Linked DNA regions of Homo sapiens: all the other regions are linked to region 3. The links are contacts of gene promoters, found by promoter capture Hi-C in human tissues and cell types (Jung and others, 2019). All regions are on one chromosome and are shown on one strand. Each heading gives the region's core, a stretch centred on a gene start or on the middle of the fragment in contact. The rest is flanking DNA. Distances are from core to core; before and after follow the strand shown. Region 1 holds the start of GRN (granulin precursor). Region 2 holds the start of NAGS (N-acetylglutamate synthase). Region 3 overlaps LINC00910 (long intergenic non-protein coding RNA 910). Region 4 holds the start of MPP2 (MAGUK p55 scaffold protein 2). Region 5 holds the start of LSM12 (LSM12 homolog).

The links. The method cuts DNA at HindIII sites, captures the fragments that hold promoters and counts their contacts. A contact is called where the count stands out against the background at its distance.
Region 1: the fragment with the promoter of GRN here is called in contact with a fragment that was not itself captured in region 3 in 2 of the 25 tissues and cell types used here (dorsolateral prefrontal cortex and hippocampus).
Region 2: a contact is called between the fragment with the promoter of NAGS here and a fragment that was not itself captured in region 3, in 4 of the 25 tissues and cell types used here (dorsolateral prefrontal cortex, hippocampus, spleen and 1 more).
Region 4: the fragment with the promoter of MPP2 here is called in contact with a fragment that was not itself captured in region 3 in 2 of the 25 tissues and cell types used here (hippocampus and spleen).
Region 5: a contact is called between the fragment with the promoter of LSM12 here and a fragment that was not itself captured in region 3, in 4 of the 25 tissues and cell types used here (bladder, dorsolateral prefrontal cortex, hippocampus and 1 more).

What each region holds. Positions count from the first base shown.
Region 1 is chr17:44,343,890-44,346,589 of GRCh38, forward strand. It overlaps GRN (granulin precursor), which reads left to right and starts at 1,413. Exons shown (of 13, transcript NM_002087.4): 1 at 1,413-1,445. RefSeq lists enhancers at 1-384, 1,536-1,685. The HindIII fragment of the contact is 17,447 bases long and covers 1-2,700 here.
Region 2 is chr17:44,003,205-44,005,904 of GRCh38, forward strand. NAGS (N-acetylglutamate synthase) reads left to right here and starts at 1,418. Exons shown (of 7, transcript NM_153006.3): 1 at 1,418-1,885; 2 at 2,433-2,700. The coding sequence starts at 1,460. It also overlaps a transcript of PYY not described here. RefSeq lists an enhancer at 2,341-2,700. The HindIII fragment of the contact is 21,260 bases long and covers 1-2,700 here.
Region 3 is chr17:43,383,330-43,386,029 of GRCh38, forward strand. The region is part of intron 1 of LINC00910 (long intergenic non-protein coding RNA 910); the gene reads right to left. Among named protein-coding and RNA genes, the nearest start is that of LINC00910, 4.2 kb to the right of the region's middle. The HindIII fragment of the contact is 7,633 bases long and covers 1-2,700 here.
Region 4 is chr17:43,906,237-43,908,936 of GRCh38, forward strand. MPP2 (MAGUK p55 scaffold protein 2) reads right to left here and starts at 1,300. Exons shown (of 13, transcript NM_005374.5): 1 at 1,238-1,300. RefSeq lists an enhancer at 1,310-1,459. The HindIII fragment of the contact is 11,562 bases long and covers 1-2,700 here.
Region 5 is chr17:44,065,226-44,067,925 of GRCh38, forward strand. LSM12 (LSM12 homolog) reads right to left here and starts at 1,446. Exons shown (of 5, transcript NM_001371445.1): 1 at 1,239-1,446. The coding sequence starts at 1,362. RefSeq lists silencers at 979-1,118, 1,409-1,528. The HindIII fragment of the contact is 14,418 bases long and covers 1-2,700 here.

The DNA of each region.
Region 1 (2,700 bases), core at 163-2,662, 960 kb after region 3:
ATCTGTTCTGTGGTACATTTTCTCTCCTCACCCTCCCATATCAATTCCTCGAAGGCAGGGCCGATCTGGAGACTAGGAAGCCACTTCTCTTTCGACAGCCCCCACCACAGCCCAGCCCGTGCCAGGCACCCAGCAGCTCCTGAAGCCCACTGGCATTGAACATGGCATTCAATCCCTGCCAAGCCTGCCCTTCCCATCTGGTTTCCCAGGGCTCTTCCCAACACCTCCTCCTCCACCTGCCAGTTAAAATCTTCCCAGACTCAGCTCAAGGAGATGCTCCTAAGGTGGAATGAAATCTCTTCTTCCCCACCTGGAGACAATCTACTTCCTCTCCCTACACCTGGCAACTGGCGCACAACCTTGTATCTTAAATTAGATTCAGCCTGAGACTGTCTCCCACCAATCCCTGCTCCCTGTCCTGCTGAGCACCTTGAGGAAAGGGCTTTGGGGCTGTTTATCTTTGTCCTGGAAACCATCCTTCAACTCACTCTGGGGCCTGCCTAGCATGTCAACCGAGTTTGGAGAATAGGGCAGAATAGGGCAGGACAGGACAGGACAAGACAGGGCAGGATAGGATAGGAGCGAGCCAGCTCAGTAGCTCACATTTGTAATCCCAGCGCCTTGGGGGGCTGCGGTAGGAGAATCGCTTTGGGAGCAGGAGTTGCAGGCCGCAGTGAGCTATGATCAGCTTGGGCGACTGAGCGAGACCCTGTCTCTAAAACAAACACACAAGTCCGGGCGCGGTGGCTCATGCCTGTAATCTTAGCACTTTGGGAGGCCGAGGTGGGCGGATCACGAGGTCAAGAAATCGAGACCATCCTGGCCAACATGGTGAAACCCCGTCTCTACTAAAAATACAAAAATTAGCTGGGCGTGGTGGTGCGCGCCTGTAGTCCCAGCTACTCGGGAGGCTGAGGCAGGAGAATCGCTTGAACCCGGGAGGCAGAGGTTGCAGTGAGCCGAGATCGTGCCACTGCACTCCAGCCTGGCGACAGAGTGAGACTCCGTCTCAGAACAAACAAACAAAAGGATAGAAAGGCGAGCACAAATATTCCCAATTCATAACACTCCCTCGCACTGTCAATGCCCCAGACACGCGCTATCATCTCTAGCAAACTCCCCCAGGCGCCTGCAGGATGGGTTAAGGAAGGCGACGAGCACCAGCTGCCCTGCTGAGGCTGTCCCGACGTCACATGATTCTCCAATCACATGATCCCTAGAAATGGGGTGTGGGGCGAGAGGAAGCAGGGAGGAGAGTGATTTGAGTAGAAAAGAAACACAGCATTCCAGGCTGGCCCCACCTCTATATTGATAAGTAGCCAATGGGAGCGGGTAGCCCTGATCCCTGGCCAATGGAAACTGAGGTAGGCGGGTCATCGCGCTGGGGTCTGTAGTCTGAGCGCTACCCGGTTGCTGCTGCCCAAGGACCGCGGAGTCGGACGCAGGTAGGAGAGCGGCCGCGCAGACCTCTCGCCTGCTCCTGCCCAGGGGCCCGCCAGGGCCATGTGAGCTTGAGGTTCCCCTGGAGTCTCAGCCGGAGACAACAGAAGAACCGCTTACTGAAACTCCTTGGGGGTTCTGATACACTAGGGGGAGTTTTATGGGAAAGAGGAAGCAGTAATTGCAGTGACGCCCCGTTAGAAGGGGCTTTCTACCTCCCCAGCATTCCCCCAAAGCAGGGACCACACCATTCTTGACCCAGCTCCACCCCTGTCGGTAGGTGCTGGCTTCTTCCCCTCTCCTGGTGGTGGTGGGTGGTTCCCGCGGCGGCCTGGAGCCGGAGGGGCGCGCGACCCTGGGCTGGGAGCTCCGAGGGCCTGGGAACGAGACCTGAGACCTTGGCTTCTCGAAGGTAGTAGGGACTTGGGAGTGGTGACTGAACCTGGTCTGGCTCCTCCTTACTTCCTCTTGTTGCGGGTGGGACGAGCTAGCTTCCGCCTCTCCCAGCCACTTTTTCCTGCTCATTTGCAGCTAGGTTGGCTCCCCTTTTGGGAATTTCCTCTCCCCTTGGCACTCGGAGTTGGGGGGTGCCACCTAGTGGAAGATAACGGAGCTAGGGTCTTGAAGAGGCTGCTGTCCCCTCTGGCTGTTTTGGCGGTGTAGGGTGGCATGAGAGACTGCGACTCGCCTCCTCATCCCTGTTTCTGTATGCGAGTGCTTGTATTCAGTAGAAGCATACACTATACTCCCTCAATTTAGGGTAAACAGGAGGGGCCACATGCACAGGTAATTCACCAGGGAGCCGAACACTCCTGTGCAGACAGACTCCCCTTCCCAGCAAGCCATGGCAGCGGACAGCCTGCTGAGAACACCCAGGAAGCAGGCGGTGCCAGCTGCAGGTGCTTTGCCTGGGAGCTGTGGGGCTGAGGAGAGGGTCCACTGTCCAGGACCAGTGAACTTCATCCTTATCTGTCCAGGAGGTGGCCTCTTGGGGATGCTGAGTTAGGGGAGGGGCACTTGAGGAAAGCCAGGTGGAGCAGAGAGGATGTGAGTGACTGGGTGGGTGAGATTTCCTGCCCCTCCCCCCGCAGTGGTATCCACACCTAGACTCGTGGGGTAACTGAGGCACAGACAGAGAGCAACTTCTCAGGCCCTCACAGTTGGCAATTCTAGGATTAGGACCCAAGTGCGATTTTCAGGCAGTCCCTGTACCCTGTTTCTGTTGTACCTGTTGCACCATTCCCAGGCACTGCCCATCGT
Region 2 (2,700 bases), core at 168-2,667, 620 kb after region 3:
GTATTTTTAGTAGAGATGGGGTTTCACCATGTTGGCCAGGCTGGTCTTGAACTTCTGACCTCAAATGACCCACCCGCCTCCTCACTTGATTCTTAAGGCTTATGGCAAGTGATACTGGCCTAGTTACAGACCTAACATGGATAAACTTTAAGTTTAAAAAGGTTAAAGAGGGCCGGGCGTGGTGGCTCACGCCTGTAATCCCAGCACTTTGGGAGGCTGAGGCAGGTGGATCACGAGGTCAGGAGTTTGAGACAATCCTGGCCAACATGGTGAAACCCTGTCTCTACTAAAAATACAAAGATTAGCCGGGTGTGATGGTGTCTGCCTGTAATCCCTGCTACTCAGGAGGCTGAGGCAGGAGAATCGCTTGAACCCAGAAGGCGGGGATTACAGTGAGCCGAGATCGCAACACTGCACTCCAGCCTGGGCAATAGGGTGGGACTCCATCTCAAACAAACAAACAAACAAAAAAAAAAAAAAAAAAAAGGGTTACAGAGGTCGAGTGAAGTAGCTCACACCTGTAATCCCAGCACCTTGGGAGGCAGAAGTGGGAGGACTGCTTGAGCTCAGGAGTTCACGAACAGTCTGGGCAACATGGTGAACACCCGTCTTCAAAAAAAATAATTTTTTTTTAAATCAGCTGGGCATGGTGGTGTGCATTTGTGGTCCCAGCTACTAGGGAGACTGAGGCAGGAGGATCATTTGAACCTGGGAGGTGGAGGCTGCAGTGAGCTATGATTGCACCACTGTACTGCAGCCTGGGCAACAACAGAGTGAGACCCTATCTCAAAAACCAAAATAAAAAACTCTATTTTATTTTATTTTTACCAGATGTGATATTCGATAAAGAAAAGCATTAACACTAAAGTATTATAAGTTTTGAGGGGTGTTTTGAGGATATCACAGAATTCCTCAAGCTGGTACCCAGTGACTGGAGTTTGGCAAACCCTGGTAACCTCATGGTCATTCATTAGGATCTTTTTTGAGCTCAGGCAACAGGACAGACAAGGCCAGCACCACCCGCCCCCGCCCTCCCACTGCCCCCCTTCTTCTACTCTTTCCAGCGCCCTCCTTCCAGCCCCCTGCCCAGCCCTGTGCTCAAAGCCACCTACAGTCCCTTCTTCTCTGGTCAGAATGCCAATCATCCAAGGCCCTGCAGACTCCCAAAGCCGCCCCTGGAACCTACCTTGGCAGCAGATTAAAGACAACCCGCCACATTTAGTCTCGGCCCCATGACCGATAGTGGGTTCAGTTCCTCCAGGGGCGGGGGAGCCTAGTGGCCCCGCCCCCTGACTCATGGCCTGACCCTCCTCAAACGCACCCAGAGGAGACTCCTGGTCCCCTGTCCGGACCCCGCCCCGACCAGGTCCAGCCCCGCCCAACGGCAAGTTAAGAGCCCCCCAGTGCCAGACGCTCCAGACAGACTGCCACTCTTGGGGGGCAAGAGTTGGTTGTCGTCATGGCGACGGCGCTGATGGCTGTGGTTCTGCGGGCAGCTGCTGTAGCCCCGAGGCTGAGAGGCCGGGGAGGCACTGGGGGCGCCCGAAGGCTGAGCTGTGGCGCGCGGCGGCGGGCGGCGAGGGGCACCAGCCCGGGGCGCCGGCTCAGCACCGCCTGGTCGCAGCCCCAGCCCCCGCCCGAGGAGTACGCGGGCGCGGACGACGTCTCCCAGTCGCCCGTCGCCGAGGAGCCGTCGTGGGTGCCGAGTCCCAGGCCCCCGGTGCCCCACGAGTCCCCAGAGCCTCCTTCGGGCCGCTCGCTGGTGCAGCGGGACATCCAGGCCTTCCTGAACCAGTGCGGGGCCAGCCCTGGGGAGGCGCGCCACTGGCTCACGCAGTTCCAGACCTGCCATCACTCCGCGGACAAGCCCTTCGCCGTCATCGAGGTGAGCGGAGCCCGGCGTGGGCCGTGACGCAGCGAGGGGATGGGGTTGTGCGGCCACCTGTCCTCAGGCATGGCAGGATACGCTGCGGGCTCTGCGCAGCGGAAGCGGGAAGGAGCCCGGCAGGGCCCAGACCAGCGCCGCCGGGAATGGGAGAGGCCGTAAGCTCCTCCGGAAGCCTCCCGCCCAGCCCGAGTGAGGATCCTGGGGGACCCCACCCGCCAGGTGTGATGCTCTGAAGAAGGCCCCCAACATGGGCGCAGTTAGGGGTTCAGAAGGACCTGGACAGGAGCCGCTTGCACTGCCCCTCCCCCAAAGATGTCCCGGAGTCCAAGGTCGGAGGGAGGAGGGCGGGAGGTACCCCAGCGTGAGACAAGGGAGTGGCAAGACCCAACGGGGCAAAGGGCGGAGCAGGTGGGCACTGGTGGCCAGAACTGGGTCCTGACAGCTTCTGGAAGGGTAGGGTCACCGAGACGGCCCTGCAGGCCAGGCTGTGGGAGCCAGCGGCTCAGGTCCGTGTCACGCTCCTTGAAAGCCCACTCCTCCGCAGGTGGACGAGGAGGTGCTCAAGTGCCAGCAGGGCGTATCCAGTCTGGCCTTTGCCCTGGCCTTCTTGCAGCGCATGGACATGAAGCCGCTGGTGGTCCTGGGGCTGCCGGCCCCTACGGCTCCCTCGGGCTGTCTTTCCTTCTGGGAGGCCAAGGCGCAGCTGGCCAAGAGCTGCAAGGTGCTGGTAGACGCGCTTCGACACAACGCCGCCGCTGCTGTGCCATTTTTTGGCGGCGGGTCTGTGCTACGCGCTGCCGAGCCGGCTCCCC
Region 3 (2,700 bases), core at 164-2,663:
TGCTTACTGAGAACAGAGTACGTGGCACCATTAGGGGCAGAGGATGGAAGCAAGCACATATGAAACTAGGCATGGTGGCATGCTCCTGTAGTCCCAGCTACTCAGGAGGCTGAGGTGGAGGGTCACTTGAGCTGGGGAGGTCGAGGTTGTGAGCCATGGTCATGCCACTGCCCTCCACCACGGGCCACAGAGCGAGACTTGAAAAAAAAAAGAAAGAGAGAGAGAGGGAGAGAGAGAGAGAGAGAGAGAGGGAGAGAGAGAGAGAGGGAGAGAGAGAAAGAAAGAAAAAAAGAAAGAAAAAGAAAAAGAGAAAAAGAAAGAGAAAGAGAGAAAGAGTTGAAAATCTTGGAGGCCTTTGAAAACATAGAGAGACTGGACTTCTGTTTCTATGATCAGGGTGAGGTATACAGGTGGTCCCCAGTAGCCATGGACTGGGAGAGATGACACGGAGATACTACTTTGTGTAAGAGAAGAGTACATGTTTCAGAATCACAGGAACACCAATGTGTAATGAGCAGGCAGGCCGAGAGAAATGACAACGTATGTCCTTATAAAGACTTAGAGGCAAATGTTTAGAGCAGAATTATTCGAATAGCTTTGAACTGAAAACTACTCAAACGTCCATCAGTGGGTGAACGGATAAACAAAATGTGATATTCAGGAATAAAAACATAATGGTACAACATAATGGCACATGTCACAATGGGGATGAACCTCAGAAACATTATGCTCAGAGAAAGACATCAGTCAGACACAAAAGACCACATACTGTGTAATTCCTTTCATATGAAATGCCAGGAACGGGAACTCTAGACATAAAGTAGATCAGTGGTTAACTCAAGATGAGGGTGGGAGTGGGCAATGACTGTGTAGGGGAGGCAAAACTTTATCTCCTTAGGGTCCTTGCTGGGCCTGAGACTCAAACTGACATAGATTAGCAGGAGGAAAGCTATCATAAAAGCTGTCAATGTAAGTTTTACATGACACGGGAGCCCTCACAAGGAAATGAAAACCCAAGGCCACGATCATATATGTGCATTTGTTCTGGTTATTTTCTGCCTCCCCTTCCACTTGCCATTCTTCTCTCCCCTGCTCTTTTGTACTGCATAGAGCTGCATAAGGGTCGTGAGCCAAACAGCACTCCCTCTTGCTGCAGCTGGTCACAGGGCTGCCCCTGCTACTCATCCTGTGCCTCATGGGCAACATGTTATGCCCATGTCCAAGGTACAGAGAAGTGGACCCAGAGCCAGGGAGAGGTGATAGGGACCTTTGGGCGGGGTGGGAGGTGCTTATTGAGAACAGAGTCCATGTCACCATTAGGGAGAGAGCATGGAAGCAAGCACGTTTGACAATCCTGTGTCTGCCCTGTTTCTGGAGAGGCAGATGCAGACAGCAGGTCAGAGGGAATTTGACTGGACAGGAACTTGGGGGGTTGAGGGTAGCCATTGCATATAACCAAACCTGTTACACATTTCTTTGATATCTGATGTCATTGTGACATGATCTAGAAACCTCTGTCAAAATAGTTCCTAATGATACTAAACAACAACTGAGACTGTTTATTGAGTTTGTGAAATCAAGGAGTGGCTGCTCTTCTAGAAGCAGTGAGTTGATGTCTGTTCTAACATTGTTCTGAGACAAGGAAACCTTTTTATACTTTAATAGCCAGGGTCAGAATTTCTCAGATTGTATATTTGCATGTAGCACAGGAGATGCTCTTTTAATAAAAATCCAGAAATTTGTTGTGCACATTATTCAATAGAGAACAATATCAAATTAAACCAACAACAATGACACTTAACATTTGCCCAAAGCTTGGTAAATGTTGATGGTCACTGTGTACCTTCAGATAGCTGTGTACTCTAACAGAGAGAATGATTTCAAAATCAGTTGAAGAGAAAACGCCTCTGCCTGCCTGTACCTGTATATTACTGTCAATGTCAATCAGGAATGTGTGGGTTCATTCCAGTTATTTTCCGGCTCCCAATCTACTTGCCATTCTTTCATCTCCTGCTCTTTTGTACTGCATAGAGCTACAGAAAGTTAGTGAGTCAAACGACAGCCCCTCTTGGTGCATTTGGTCACAAGGCTGCCCCTGGTACTCAACCAGTGCCTCCTGTCCTCTCCCCTCCAAATCCCCCCTCCTTCTCAGCTATCAACTCTGTTAATCCTGGTGGTTTCCCTGGCTACCGTGACCCAAACTCTCATTCCTGAAAAGTCTAAACCCCTCAAGGCCACATCTTTCTCAAGTCAGGGTTCCTGCACTTGTCCATTCATGTCACAGGTGGACCTGGGAGTAACACGTGGCACCCAAACAGATCACCAGAGTTCACATATATTCCACCTGCCCTCCCTGCATAAGAGCACTACTCCCTCTTCCTGATGATGGTTCAGGGCCATTAATCCCTGCCAAGATGGTGACTGCTCCTGCCTGCTAGTTCAACCTGTCCAGCCACAGCTGTAGCTTGAAGGCTTGAAGTTCAATGGGACCCACTTCTGCTTCCACGCTTTCTTTCCTTTAATTTTAATTTTTATTTATTTGAGACAGGGTCTGGCTCTGTCACCAAGGCTGGAGTGCAGTGGTGCAATCACGGCTCACTGGAGCATCCACCTCCCAGACTCAACTGATCCTCCTGCCTCAGCCTCTGAAATAGCTGTTGTACAGATATTCGTCACCCTGAACAGGGCTTCACTACCTTG
Region 4 (2,700 bases), core at 50-2,549, 520 kb after region 3:
TCTCCCGGGGAATCGGTTCCCAGAGCATCGGCTGGCTTTGCTCCCCCACGCCCGTCCAAGCCTCTGAGAGGGCGGGGCCTGGCTGTGTCCACAGGAGAACGGCAGTGCCAGGCAAGCTAGCCTGGCTCCGTGCCAAGGTCCTGCACCCAGACATCTGGGAACCTGCACCTCGGCTTCCAAAAGCCTGGGCCCAGATGCCCTCTCAGCTCTGCCTCCGAGATATCCACATCACCCATAGTGTCCGCAGGCGAGCGGACCAGCAGTGAAAGGGAGAGGTTTCTTCCAACCTCCCACCCATCCCTCCATCCATACACATACAAAGAGGTGCGGAGAAGAAAGGTCTGACAAAGGCGCTTTGGAGAGCGAGAGGTCGCGGGGAGGTCTGGACAGAACTGAGGGCCAGAGGATGGGGTCGAAAGGCCAGGCGGACGTGCATGCTTGGACCATCAGATCACCCCTGCCCCAACGGACCCAGCCCTAACACCCTGGGCGCTAGGACCTGGGGGAGGGGGGCGTGTTGTGAGCCATCAAAGAAGGCTCTCTACGTGCGCGCCCGCCGGAGACCAGGGATGAGGTCACTAAATGACTGCCCCGGCCAACCCCCACCCCGTCTTTATCCGCACCGCCCCCCCCTTAATTGACCTAACTTTCTAACCCTAGCTCTTCGCTTCTGGCACCGGTCCCCTCCCAAGTCTCCAGACCCTAACCCTGGCTCCCGACCCGCCCCGCTACAGCTTGGGAAGCGGGAGAAGCAGCGCGCGCCCTTCTGCGGACCCCCTCCCAGGGAAGATTGTGGTGTTAGCTGCCTAGGGGGACCAGGGGGCCACCGGGACCCAGCGCAACCTCTGTCTCGCTCCCCAACCCCCGGAAGCGCTAACAGCACGGTTCTTACGTAATGCCGGGCTTCTAAGTACCCCCAACCCGCACAGCCCCCGGGGAGGCCGCGCAGATACCGGGGCCCCTCACAGCTCACCACCTTGGTGCCTGAAGCCACTTTGGAGCCCCTACCGCAGGGGCGGGGACCAGTGTCAATGGGCAGCGGGGCTTGGTTCTCCCAACCAGCACCCCAGAAAGAGGGCCCAGGGGCGGGGGCGGGTGGACAGGGAGGGAACGGGCCTGGGTGAAAGGGGCCTGTGGAGTTTAAACCCAGTGAATAGGGTCCTAAGTGCCGTGTCAGGACGAAAAGAAGGCGGAGGTCTTGGGATAGGAGCTGGCCCGGGGGCCGGGGGACGCCTACCTGCGCCCCGGGAAGCCCCTAGCTCCGGGCGGCTCCAGCGCAGCCGGGCGCTCAGCGTTTATTGCTTGTCAATCGCTAGCCCGGCTCTTAAAGCGGCAAGGCCTCTCCGCGAGGGGGCGGAGGTCCGGAGGAGAGGGGAGGTGAGGAGAACGCGGAGGCCGGCACAACTCGGAGGAAGTAGTCTTTCCCAGCAGCTGGTACGGGGGCAGCCAGGTAGTGGTTTGGGAGACACCGCACAGACCACGACGCCCTGCTGGAGTCCCACTGGGAAGGGTTAGGGAGGCAGGACTGGTACCAGTACCCGCTGGTGCCCCTCGGCTCCCAAGGATCCCTTAAAGGGGCGATGGTAAAAGTGCCTAATGAGACCGGCTTGATTACTCCGCCCACCCATCTTGGCTTAGACCGGCGTTCTAGTTCCAGGCGTGCCTCACTTTTCCTCGTTATCCTGCTTCCATATTGAGAAAAAGAATAGGAGGACTTCAGAGAGACTCCCAGGAAGCAGGATACCAGCCCCAGAAGGCCTCGGGATCAGGGGCAGCTTTTTAAGGACTCAGAGGGTGGATATCCGGATTCCAGACTTTCCAGAAATTTTGCAAAAAAGAGGAAATGTCTTCCTGAAAGGATTCGAGAGCCTCTTTTAGGTCTAGGTGAGGGAGGCCTGGTCCATTTTCCTGCCTATGGAATAAAGAAGTAACTGGCTAGCCTTCCTCAGAGTCCCAGCCCAAAAAGTAAATAAAGGGTTAAACCCACTGGCCCGCCTTCGCCCAGCCTCCGGCTCCACCCCACATCTGCTAGTAAAAGATGCTGGGCCTCCAAATACGGGAGGCTCTGTGCAGTGCGACTAGCATTTGGGGCCAGCTACGCTACTTCTCCGACCTCGGCGTTCAGCCACCCCGTCCAGTTGCCCTGAACAAAATGTGAGAGTCATCCCTTTTCCTTGCTAACTGGATTCCTAAGATCATAAATGGACTGCATCTTTGGCCGGGCGCGGTGGCTCACTCCCATAATCCCAACACTTTGGGAGTCGGAGGCGGGAGCATCGGTTGAGCCTAGGAGTTCGAGACTAGCCCAAGCAACATAGTGAAACCCCATCGCTACAAAAAATAAAATAAACAAAATTAGCTGGGCGTGGTAGCGCGCGCCTGTAGTCCCAGCTACTTGGGAAGCTGAGGCTGCAGTGAGCCGAGATTGCAACACCGCACTCCAGCCTGGGCAACAGAGTGAGACCCTGTCTCAAAAGAAACAAAAAGAAAAGAAATGGATTACATTCTGGAAACTTGCTTGGAAATCTCAGAAATGGGAATCTATCCCGAAAGCAGGGGACTGGTCCCTGGGTTCCAAGACTCAGCTCTCCCCTGAGTTCCAAGGGTATAAGTTTGGATATAGGAAAAAGCCACAGAGGCGGCCGAACTGCTGAAAACCACATTGTTTAGGTGACCCAGGCTTTTACTGAGAGAAGAAAG
Region 5 (2,700 bases), core at 196-2,695, 680 kb after region 3:
AGTTCGAGACCATCCTGGCCAACATGGTGATACCCCATCTCTGTTAAAAAAAAACATATACAAAAATTAGCTGGGCGTGGTGGCGCGTGCCCGTAATCCCAGCTACTCCGGAGGCTGAGGCAGGAGAATCGCTCGAACCAGGGAGTCGGAGGTTGCAGTGAGCCGAGATTGCGCCACCGCACTCCATCCTAGCGACAGAGCGAGACTCCATCTTAAAAAAAAAAAAAAAAAAAAGATGCCATAAAAAATTACTCCTCCAAAAAAAAATTCCAATAAACCCACCTGTGGCTCACATAAAAAGGGAAGCCGTGGCACATTTATCCCAACAAGGAAGTGTTTCATTTCCAAGACTGAGTTTCCTGGAGTAATTCAGAAGTCACTTCCACCCCAAAGAAGCAGGCCACCTTTTCCAATCAGTTTAACATTGCTACTTTCAAAAGGGAGGCTGCTACTACGTAAAAGGACTCCATGTGCTGGACTGATCAAGGCAGCATGAGAACTTCACTCTTTCACCTGTAACTCACACATCCCCAAACCACATAAGCCCCTGGCAAGCCCTCTCTGGAACAGGTTTCCAGTGCAAACATCCCCTAAACAGCAACTTCCAAATGACCGAGAAGCCTAAAAATCAGCACAGCCCCCCCACCACACATACACACGCATCAGCGAAACAAGCCACTATCCCTAGCTCAGATACAAACTCTGCCCTGAACTTACTCTCCCCCAAAACAGGCAAGGACCAATTTGGTCACCATCCCACCGCCCTTCCTTGGACGAAATCCCATCAGTGCACATGCCCTCCTAAATTCCATACCTTTGCCCTACCAGCAGTTCCTTACCCTAAACACCCCTCCCCATAATATTTCACCCGCCCCTCCTTTCCATCCGGGCTCCAATCCATCAGCCCCCTCCCACCACCACCCCCTCTCCTAATTACTGTGTCCCCTCTCATAACGTTCCCCCCAAAAAGCCATCCCCGTGTCAAGCCCTCCTCCACCCACTGATCCTCGGTAAAGCCCCAGCTCCCGCAAAGAGAGAGAGACAGGATCCCCAAAGCTGACCGAAGGGCCCGCGGGAGGGGGAGGGGAGCTCAGGGCCGTGCGCATGCGCCCCGGGCGCCGCGGTAGCCGGTCGCCCCTAGGCCCGGAGAGAGCCCCAGCCGCCGCCGTCGTCCCCCACCCCCCGACCACCGCACCTACACGCCGGCCCGGACTCGGGCTTCACGCAGGGAAGGATACTTAAAGCCAGCATTTTGGATTGGTAGTCAAAGGCTACCACCTCGCCCTGCAGCCGCTGCTCCTGGCACGTCCGGCACGACACCTGGCTCCCAACGCTGAAGTACTCGCCCGGAGGAGCCGCCATCTTGGGAGTGCAGCCGCGGCCGGCGGCGGCGGCGGCAGCAGCGGGCGAAAGCCGGGCCCCCAGTGAGCGCCGCGACGCGACGGCGCGCACGGAGCGTGCTTGCGTCACACGCCGGGGCGTGGCCTGGCGCTGGTTGGGGCGGGATCCTAGGTGGAGTGGGAAAGAAGAGGAAATAAAGGGGAATCTGAAAAGTATTTGTATAGCTGCGTCCGCTCGGTTAAGTGCTTGTAGAGTCCATTTTAGAAGTTAAGGATAAATGACCTACGTGGAATGAAAAGGGGAAAGAGGAGGGAGCTGCAGTCTCCATTATATGCACACCTTCCACACAAGAGTTTAATGAATGAATTTTATAAAATATGTTAACCCCATTTTGCATATGAGGAATCAGAGCCTCAGAGGACTTAACGATACTTGGACAAGATGATTATAAGGCTGGGAGCGGTGGCTCACGCCTGTAATCCCAGCACTTTGGGAGGCCGAGGCGGGTGGATCACCTGAGGTCAGGGGTTCGAGACCAGCCTGGCCAACATGGTGAAACCCCGTCTCTACTAAAAATACAAAAATTAGCCGGGTACGGTGGCGCGTGCCTGTAATCCCAGCTACTAGGGGGACTGAGGCTGGAGGATCTCTTGAACCTGGAAGGCGGAGGTTGCACTGAGCCAAGATTGTGCCACTGCACTCTAGCCTGGGCAACAGAGCGAGACTCTGTCTCAAAACAAACAAACAAACAAAAAAAGATGATTATAACTACTGAGTGATAGTGGAAAGAACATTGGCTGTGGAGTTAGATAAGCTGGAACCAGAATCCGAGGTCAGCCTCTTACTAAATCACCTGACCTTGAGCAAGCAAATTACCTGATCCTGTTTCTTCATAGGCATTTGTATTGTCACTTCTTGAGCATCTAACAGCCCTTTGAGGTAGGAATCAATGTCCTCCTTTTACATAAACTAAGTTTTAGACTAAACTTGTCCACGGTTCCACAACTAGCAAAAACAGTCTGCCTATTTCCAAGGACGGTGCTATTTACTGCTATACTCTGTTACATAATAATACCTACCTCATAGTTAGGAGGTTTAAATGCGGTAACGGGTATAAGTGCATGGCATGTACTAGGTCTTTAATAAATGGTAGTTCCCCCTTAGTCACCCATCACTCTTAGAAGTCAAGACACTTCCCCTTCTCCCTTTTTGCCCTCTCTCCCAGAAAGCCAGGCAAAAGGCAGGAATGAGGAGCAGCGGATAGTGACAAAAAGGGGCTTGGAGGAGGGGTTTTGCGCCCCTGCCCTTGAATGTCCGTCTGATGTACAAAACAGTCGTTTTCTTAATCTTATGCAAAGG